2 separate regions of the Homo sapiens genome follow, and region 2 is linked to region 1. Evidence: promoter capture Hi-C in 16 types of primary human blood cells and fetal thymus (Javierre and others, 2016). All regions are on one chromosome and are shown on one strand. The core of a region is centred on a gene start or on the middle of the fragment in contact, and the rest is flanking DNA. Distances in the headings are between cores, read along the strand shown.

What was found. Contacts are between HindIII fragments. The CHiCAGO score rates a contact against its expected background, and 5 or more counts as called.
Region 2: a fragment that was not itself captured here is called in contact with the fragment with the promoter of VAV3 in region 1 in 6 of 17 cell types (total B cells, naive B cells, naive CD8 T cells and 3 more); the score reaches 7.0 in total B cells.

Annotation. Positions count from the first base shown.
Region 1 is chr1:107,962,364-107,967,273 of GRCh38, reverse strand. VAV3 (vav guanine nucleotide exchange factor 3) reads left to right here and starts at 2,094. Exons shown (of 27, transcript NM_006113.5): 1 at 2,094-2,608. The coding sequence starts at 2,405. It overlaps VAV3-AS1 (VAV3 antisense RNA 1), which reads right to left and starts at 2,831. Exons shown (of 3, transcript NR_046653.1): 1 at 2,770-2,831. RefSeq lists enhancers at 1,308-1,377, 1,313-1,607, 2,954-3,083. The HindIII fragment of the contact is 4,630 bases long and covers 1-2,813 here.
Region 2 is chr1:107,760,940-107,765,849 of GRCh38, reverse strand. It overlaps VAV3 (vav guanine nucleotide exchange factor 3), which reads left to right. Exons shown (of 27, transcript NM_006113.5): 9 at 675-774. Among named protein-coding and RNA genes, the nearest start is that of MIR7852, 130 kb to the left of the region's middle. The HindIII fragment of the contact is 8,943 bases long and covers 1-4,910 here.

The sequences.
Region 1 (4,910 bases), core at 845-3,344:
GGGAGGCTGAGGTAGGAGAATGGCGTGAACCCGGGAAGTGGAGCTTGCAGTGAGCTGAGATCGCGCCACTGCACTCCAGCCTGAGCGACAGAGCGAGACTCCGTCCACCCCCCACAAAAAAAAAAAAAAATTTCTTATTTCGTATCTATGGAAACTGAACTGTAGAGAATTTATCCAAGGTCATGTTGCTAGAAAGCAGTACAGCTCGGGCTCTAAATCCAGATTTGCGTCCTGGGATAGTGTATATAATGTGGATTTTGGAAATATTCTCCAACATCCAAAGGTGATCTGATGCTACCTGAAAAAAATTCATAGTTTTAGTTTAAATTTTGACCCGTTTAATGAAATTTCTTTTTAATTTCTCTTTATGAAAGACTGTGTTAAATGGTGATTCAAATGTGTTGGATTTTGCTTCTAAAGGTATGTAGAGATTAGTATGATTTATTTGCCAAAATTATGGCCTAGAAAATGTCGTGCTATTGATGGAATCCGCATTGAACACAAGAGGAAATTGCTAGGGAAGGATGCGTGTGAGGAAAGGAAATCCTCAGGCTGATTTATTGTTCAGCGCTGAGTGTAAACAGTGTGCTATCCTTGTCACAGCCAAACGAAAAAGGACGCAATCACTATCCTGAACAGATCATTCTTTTAAAAATAATATTTTGGCCTGCTTATAAAGCATGGTTCGTAATAAAAAATTTGGGCTACAGAAATATAATACAATTAAATTATCCAAACTCCCATCTTTTTGTTTGTTTGTTTGTTTGTTTTTTGAGACAGAGTCTGGCTCTGTCGTCCAGGCTGGAGTGCAGTGGCTGGATCTCAGCTCACCGCAACCTCCGCCTCATGGGTTCAAGCGATTCTCCTACCTCAGCCTCCCGAGCAGCTGGGACTACAGGTGCGTGCCACCACGCCCGGCCAATTTTTTGTATTTTTAGTAGAGACGGGTTTTCACCGTGTTAGCCAGGATGGTCTCGATCTCCTGACCTCGTGATCCGCCCGCCTCGGCCTCCCAAAGTGCTGGGATTACAGGCGTGAGCCACCGCGCCCGGCCTATTTTCTAATTTTAAGTGAATGCATCTCAAAAGGGTGACGAAGGACCACATTCCTATCGAACAGCAATAATTCACTGTGGCAATATCTTGCCACAAATAATTTAAACATTAATTGTGGTTTTGAGGGGCAGTGTGCAGTGGGAGTAAAAGGGGTAGGGTTTAGAGTCTCCAAAAGATTTACTTAAGAAACACGAATGCACTGCTTGTGCACTGCGCAAAAGTTCTGGGGTCAAGTTCCAACTTTCACTAAGGATCCCAGAACAGCCCGGCAGGAGCTGCCCAGGGCTAACGCGCTTTGCTCTCAAACCCGGCCGCCAGTCGCCGACGCATGCGCAGTCTAGCACCGTGGCACAGGCCTTTCTCAAGCAGGTTTTTGTGGGGTCAGCAAAAGGGCCAGAACAGCAACGGCAAACAGTTCCGAGCCTGACAGTGCAGGGGCAAACCAGCTCCAAGTGAAAATCACCTCGCGAGGAAATAGGCTCAGGGATCGGGGCGGTTTCCGCAGGCGTCTCCACACACGCACTCTCACTCACTTTGAGGGTGCCAAAACACCACTAGGGGCAACTAGGAGGAATAGGCTGAGGAATCAGCTATAGAGAATGGAGGGGATAGAGCTGCAAGGGGCGAGGGGGCGACGATCTCTAAAACTTTCAGCGCCGTGCTCTACTGATGCTCTAGGCACTTTTTTCATTGCTCTGGGGAGTCTGGGTGCCCCAATTAATCCGTCGCTCCTTTGAGCATTTGTTGTTTAGGGGGTCCTGGGGGACCCCATCGTATTACAGTATTCAGCCACACTCCCCGCAAAGCCGGGAAGCCGCCCCGAGAGAAGACCCCAGGACGCCGGGGGCTGCGTGAGCCCCGCAAGGCTGCAGGCGGGGGCGCGGGATCCCCTTTCTGGCCGCCGCCCCCCTCCGCCGGCCCCTCCCCCGCGCCCCGCCCTCGGCCACAGACCCCAGCCCCGGCCGCCGGCGCGCTCCCACCCGCGCGTCTGGGGACTTGCGGACCGCAGCGAGACCGGCCGGCGTGCTGGGCATGCTCAGTGGCGGGCCGGGCGCTGGAGTCGGAAGCCTGTGCGCGGCAGCCGCCGCCGAGCCGGCCGGGGCGCACGGAGAGCGCGCGGGACTCGCTGCAGCGGCGGCCGGGTCGCGGCGCACCCGGGCCGGGACCGGAGCCGAGCCTAGCGCGGCGCCCGCGACCCGTCAGCCGCGGCTCCTGCTCCCTCGATCCCGCGCGGGGAAAGGGCCGGCGGCTGTTGGCGTCGGCGGGGCGCGGAGGAACCGCGGCGGCGGCGGCGGCGGCCGCATCCTTGCCGCCCGCCCCGGCCCAGCCGCGTCCCGGAGCCGTCGGGCATGGAGCCGTGGAAGCAGTGCGCGCAGTGGCTCATCCATTGCAAGGTGCTGCCCACCAACCACCGGGTGACCTGGGACTCGGCTCAGGTGTTCGACCTTGCGCAGACCCTCCGCGATGGAGTCCTGCTCTGCCAGCTGCTTAACAACCTCCGGGCGCACTCCATCAACCTGAAGGAGATCAACCTGAGGCCGCAGATGTCCCAGGTGAGGAGGCCGGCACGGGCGCCCCGCCTCCAGCCGGCAGCTCCCATTAATCATGCGGCTAATTTCTTTGTGTAAATGCAAACGTCTAGGTGCGCTGAGCTTGCCCTGCTTCCCAGCCTTCTGCTTTGGGACCACTTCGGCACCACTTTGGCGTTTCCTACCTTGGCTTGAAATGGTTTAGCTCCTCAAGCTGAATGCGAAAGCTTTGCGTCCGGAGATGGTGTGAGGATTTCGTAAAGGCTTTCTGTGAGGCGGGAAAGAAATAAGTTGTCTTAGGGTGCCCTTCACCTACTCTGCGTGTGTGTGGCGCGACAAAGGGAATTTGATCAAGCTCTTCTATAATAACGAAGGGGAGGGACGAAACGAGGTGATGGGGTAATTTGCCTTTAGTCTCTTCTTTTGCTTTGCGTCTTGTACTCATGTTTTCCTAAAAGAGGAACCATGACATACATGAGGACTCGAGGAAGTGAAGGGCGTTTGGTCCCGTTATCTGTCCAGGAGTGACATTGGTCAAAGGGAAGAACAGGGAGCAGAACCCGGAGGCCGCCCCCAGGGCCCCTGAGCTGGTGGCCAGCCGGCAAGCTCCCGTTTACAGCTCTTCCTAAGCCATGTGAGAAGGAGCGAGTCCAGCCTCTCTCAGCAGCGACAGGAAATGAGAAGTTTCACTAGAGATTCCGCTTTCCTTCCTGCAGTGCCCTGCTCAGGTGCTGTGGTGCCGGTCGGCTCCTGGGGCTGGAGCTGCCTCTTTGAGGGTTAAGCCAGACACCTCTGGAAGGTTGGGTGCACCCTAGAGTCAGCTCAAAAGTCACAGTTCAGTGGAAGAGTAGTTTATTTGTCCTGTCGGAAAATTTTTGTACAGAAGGATGTTAAACTCGGTTCAGAGCCTCTTTCTCTTTCAGAATGTTAAAACAAAACAAAAAACCAAACTGCTTTCAACTTAAAAGGGAGAGGACAGAGCCCTCTCCCTGACACATTTCAGCACTAATCCTCTATGACGCAGAGCCTCAGCTACTTAGCAACCAGAGCAGCGCCTTTTAAGAAGGAACGGACTTTATATGATTTAATAAGTATGTATTTAAAGTTAGAGCACACACAGTCATCTGTGATTCTTGGTGTCAGTGTTTCATCAGGGTCCCCTGCACTTCAGATTCTGCATTCCTTGCCTGTTTGCCTTCAACCTGCTGGTGGGCAGTCCCTAAGAAAGAACAGGCATGGAAGTGGGGAGAGCCATACGTATTTAAAAGTGAGGTAAATTATTTTATACCCCCATAAACATGCATGGTGATTGCTACCTCTCGGTACCCCTTCAGAGTTGTCTCAACTCTGGAAATTCCTTTGAGGGGTTTGGCAGACTTTTCTATTATGGTGGGAGCTGCAGTTAGCTACTCTCACACATCCCCATTTTCCACTTTGCCTGTAGCCTCAGGAGGCAGCGTGGGTCAGGATGCCTTGGCCCACCAGTAGGGAGTACAGTACTGTGCACATTTCCTGGAACTTGTTTCCTGGAACTCTCAGCAGTTGCTCTCAATAATCACGTTTTCTGGACAGCTGAAGACCTTTTTAAACCTCGAAGCCTTTATTTGAATGCTAACAATGGATGAGAATCGTTTTGAATGTGTTTCACTCTTCTCCTCTTATGTTAGATGTAATTTAATCTTTCTGATGACCAAAGATTGTCATTATAAGCATCATTAATGAAAATTGAGCACATACAATGCTCTAAGAGTTCTGTTCCCTAGTGGGGGTAGCAAAATGAGCACACCAGGATACTTGCCCTAAAGGAATTATTACACTATGCTATCAGATGGTAAATCACTGGGTTATAATAAGGTAAGTAGGACAGCTAATGACCTTCTTTGTGCCGTTGCACTTTTGAGTTCTTAAGTCTGTTCAACCTTGAGGTTTCTGGTTCCAAATTAAGTACAGTTTCTCCTGTAATGTCCTATGAGAGGGTGCTTCCCTCAAATGTGAATCCTAGAAGGCTAGTACCTGAGCCTGGTGATGTCTGTTTTTGCTTTCCTCATGGTTCTTGGCCTCATTGCAGAGAGGCAAGGCTGCTGAACAAGTGGATGCTAGGCCGATGAGTTTGTATCATGCAGGTTGTCATTAAATCCTTTAATGAGACTTATGAAATGATTTTATGAAACAACTTGACGTATTTAACATGCTTATAGTGCCTAGCACATGTACTTAATAAATGTTTACTATTAGCAAAATTATGAAAAACATTTTTTCTGCTATTGTTATATTAAGAGTAATAGGTTCCAATAGAAATTTTAAAACAATTGTAGAGGCCTACCGG
Region 2 (4,910 bases), core at 1,397-3,896, 200 kb after region 1:
CATCAAGTCTTCGATAAATATTCACATTTTATTAGTAGTGTCTTTTTTCCAGTGGAGAGTTAAGAGAAGCAATAAACCAACTGACCTCTTTGCAAAATATTTGTGCTACAGAGATACCTTCCCTGAAGTGGGTCAGATTCCATGTGATATGAGTTATCTTCTGTCCAGAACAGTTCAGGTCTCTCGTTTTCCTCTCTTCAGATGATTTATGTTCCTTAATTAAAAAGTAGCAAGGAGTAAGAGGTTTAATAATGAAGGAGTTATATGTAGTGATTGGCATAAAATTGTAATAGAGAAAACTTTCTGAGTGTTTAGAGACAAAGTTTATCTCTTGTAAGAGCTTTAACAGAAATTTTTAATTTTGTTTTTGGAATGCATTTATGTCTACTCAAATAACATTAACAGTCATCAAGCCAGTTTGTAAATTCTGCCTGCTATAAAAATTTACATAGAATTAATCTCATTCAAAGTTGGAACTACAAATTAGTCATTACTATAAAAATGAGTGACCCTTATTCTATGACTGTGTATGTGGTATGTATTAAAAATAATTTCTACTGCTATTTTGGTTATCCCTAACAATGGTTTTAAAGAGATGAAGATTCTGCTTGTTTCCCCCTCCAGTTCATTCTTGGTTTTTGTCTTAGAGATTTCTTGTCTTTTTTCCCTTTCAGATTGGTTATTTACGGGCAGTACTGCAGTGGAGTGGAGTCAGCCATCTCTAGTTTAGACTACATTTCTAAGACAAAAGAAGATGTCAAACTGAAATTAGAGGTGCCTATTTATTTTTAGTTTATGACATAAAGCAAAATAAACCTAAAAGCAATGTGTTCCTCTTTATGATCAGTGAAGCAGTACATTTCCCATTATTTTAAATATAATTTCATGTCAATTTTATAAAATATTTAAACAGCTCTATAAAATAGTAATATGGTAGTAATAGTAACAGTCGTTAAAAATCTAACATTTATGGCCCTGTGTTTTACATGCATTATCTCATTAGGTCCTTCTGACTCTGTGAAATAGGTACAATTAATTTTCTCATCTTATGAGAAAGCTGAAGTTCAGAGAGATTATGAATAACTTGCGTAGATAGTAAGAAGTGCAGGACGAGTGAGATACGTTAGATAATGTATATGTAGATTTAAAATGTTTACTAGTTAGCTGGGCAGGGTGGCTCATGCCTGTAGTTCTAGCTACCTGAGAAGTTGAGGCCAAGGAGTATGCACTTGAGCCCGAGAGTTTGAAGCTGCAGTGAGCTATGGTTGCACCATTGCACTCCAGCCAGGGTGGCAAAGCAAGACCCTGTATCAAAAACAAAATAAAAAAGATGTTTACTAAAAATATGACATTTAGAATCAGATGTATTAAAAGGCCATGCATATTGCCCACAGGAAGGAAGAGAAGACGAACACAAATATGGTAGGATTAAATAACATGTGATAAGCACTGTATAATAGGGCTCTGTAAGACTGAATCTACCCACTTCAGTGTGGGTAGATTGTAGAGGATTCATCTGAAGAGGCGCATTTGAGTTAGGTCACCAAAGAATGGGATGAGCTTTGACAGATGAGATTCTATGGAGAGCATTCCTGAACAATTGGTATGTATTGACCAGAACAGTTGGGAAAGTTTGAGAGGTGGCACGTAGGCCGATATAAACAGAGTGCATGATCACAACAGTATATAAGTCTAGAAACCTAGGTTAAGTCGTGTTTTTTTGTACATCATGTTTTTTTTTTTGTTTTGTTTTTTGTTTTTTGTTTTTTTTTTTCCTGAAGAGGAGTTCGAGGACTTCATGCTTTCAAAGAACTTTTGAACAATGTTTGTTGTATCAGTCACTGTATTATCCATGTATTTTGAATTTTATTAAATTTCAGGTAGAGATATATAGCCAGCTCTTAAATTTAACAGCGTGTGGCTTATTTGCCTGTTTAATATCCCTTTTCCTTTTCTTTGTTCAGTGTAGCACTGAGGTCAGGGGAGAAGGGGCAGGTGATTTTCAAATCAGAAGCCCTTCACTGTTTTGCCTCTCTGGCATGATTTCATAGCTCACAACTCCCACAAAGGGAAACTATTGCTTAGACAGTTTGCACGTTAACAGGCCACCAAGTAACTGTACTAGATACGTGATCTTTTTGCTTTATATCTTAATATTCCTTCATTATGTTGACTTTAAGACTGGAGGTAGTTTGAGTCACCCCTAAATAACATCCTTGTAACATTGTTAGTGCAAAGACTTCCTGCTCCTCTTTGCAGAATAGAGCCTCCTAAGTGTAGAGCTGGGAGCCACTGTGACTCAAAATATGATGATAAAATTAAATTTTACAACTTATACACCTACTTCCTAGTAGGGCAACATTAAAGCAGTTTTTCTTAAAATAAAGATATAAAATTGTGCTCCCAGATAGTAGTCAGCAAGTTGTCAATCACACCTCCATTATATTCTCAGTCTTGTTTGAGTGTTGTTCTTCCTTCTTTCAGAGTTATTGTCAAAGTTTTGCCCAATGACCATACTCTGGGACTCTAAGTATGTAGTTTTTGCAGTCAATGCTCGACTTAGGGAAAGAGAGGACATCAGGCTGAGTTTGAAAGGCACAGGGTGAGGTGCCCCTGCTGTCCTTTCTTCAGCTTAAAAGCCCACACTTCTAACCATAGTCCTGATTTGGAAGTATTAAGTCGGATACTTAGTGTAACACTTCAACAAATACTCAGTGGGAGCTGCGTGCCGCAAGCCCCAGCATGATAGAAGGAAAACTACCTTATTCTTGGTGTCTTTCTGCCTTCTTTGTGTCTTCTGTTTTGTGGTTATTTTTGTTCTTGTTGAGTTTTTTGTCTTTTTCTTCTCTACTTTGGAACCAAGATAACATGGGGTGAAGGGCGATGAATCTCTTTATCTTGCCCTATCAGCCTGGCTCATCCTACCTCATTTTATTTTCCATTACAATTGAATTGAGGCTAAGCAAGTGACTGGATGTTTTGGAAGGATTCTTTCTACCCATTATTTACTTTCAACACGAATAAGCATTTTACATTTGAGTCTCTATCTCCCAGGTGTAGCTAATTCCAGCAATGTTGGTTTCTTTACTTCCTGAGCCTGTAACTTAGAATGTAAAGGAACTGACTTTTTTTCTTCAACATTTTGAAACTAATTTCCATAATATAGTGAATTTTAAATATATAATATTTCTGTTCCTACCACTGTGTTGGGATGGCATAACATAAGAAATATAAGCTACAACCTTAATTCCAAGGGCCTTAAAATGCAGCAGAGGAGATAAGACCTACTAATTATAGTAATATTAACAATGTAACTTTCTGTTTGAGACCCATGATCCAGAGCTCTCTACAATCTGTAGAAGTAAGAAACTGGTTGAAATAGTTATCCTTCTAATGAACTGCAGTAATTGATGACACAGCTAGCATGTCAGGATGTGTCCCCAATTCATTTTGACTGATAGCTGTAGACAGACATACTCATTAAGTCACGGATCATTAGAGTTAATGGTGTTTTTTTGGAGCTCCTCATAATATATCATTCCATGTGCCAGAAAAACTAAGTGTGGGCAAAGAAGAAACAAACTTGTGAGCAACAGTGTATTTTCTTAAGCACAACTCCGTCTATGAACTGGAAAGGTCCTTGTGCTGGGATGTGCAATTGTGTCAGGATTTTGGACTTATGAGGTTGCTCACTAATAATAATATTTGTATGGCCCTTTTTTTTTTTTTTTTTGAAGAACACCATAGTTACGTGAGAAACAGTAAAATCAGAAAAGTGACTTGTCCAAGGTCACACCGCCAACAGTTGCCAAATCTTGGCTTTAAGTTCATTCTTTGACACTTCAAAGTAATTTACTCAAAGTCATAATTATTATCAAAAGAACAAACCAGTCAATACTATTTTAAAATAAACCTTTAGGAAAGAAGAGGGTGAAATTAAATACAATCCAAGGCTTCTAAATCTTGGAGTTTAGTAGTAGGTTTATACTTGAGCAAAGTTTTAAAGTCAAATATTCCATTTCATTCAGTTCAGTAAATACTTATTAAGCAAATACTACATTCTTAGGGGCATACAGCACAAATCATATTGGAGTAGATATTACATATGATAATAATTAAAAGACCCACAAGACAGAGAGAGAGTACACCCAATTGTGATTGTAATTGTTACGAAAGGCCTAGGATTGTAGTTCTTAAACAGGAAGATGTATTTTGCTGGAGGCTGGACAAAGCACATCATAGTTGAGGGAACTGAATAAACCATAGTTGAGGGTGGGAAGACTATTGACACTTTTGATGAGTAGGGATGTGTTCTTGATGCCTGTTCTATAAGTCCACTGGGGGAAATTGGTGGGAAGTACAGCGATAAAGATAAACTGAAGAAGACCCTGGGGGGCCATGATTTTGCACTAGAGAAAATAATTTTCTTTTTCTTTTTTCTTTTTTTTTTTTTTTTTGAGACGGAGTCTCACTCTGTCACCCAGGCTGGAGTGCAGTGACACCATCTCAGCTCACTGCAAGCTCCGCCTCCCGGGTTCACTCCATTCTCCTGCCTCAGCCTTCTGAGTAGCTGGGACTACAGGCACCTGCCACCATGACCGGCTAATTTTGTTTTTGTATTTTCAGTAGAGATGGGGTTTCACCATGTTAGCCAGGATGGTCTTGATCTCCTGACCTTGTGATCTGCCCGCCTCGGCCTCCCAAAGTGCTGGGATTACAGGCGTGAGCCACCGCGCCCGGCCAAGAAAATAATTTTCATACACAAAATAGTTCTCTTTTATTCATGTTTAGAGTTAAAGTACTACAAGATTTGTTTTTTTAAATTGAAGATACTTTCTGTTATTTACAGAGAAGGATTGTTAAGGAAACAAACGCACTCATTTATTGTATAATAACTGTTCTGCCTAGGG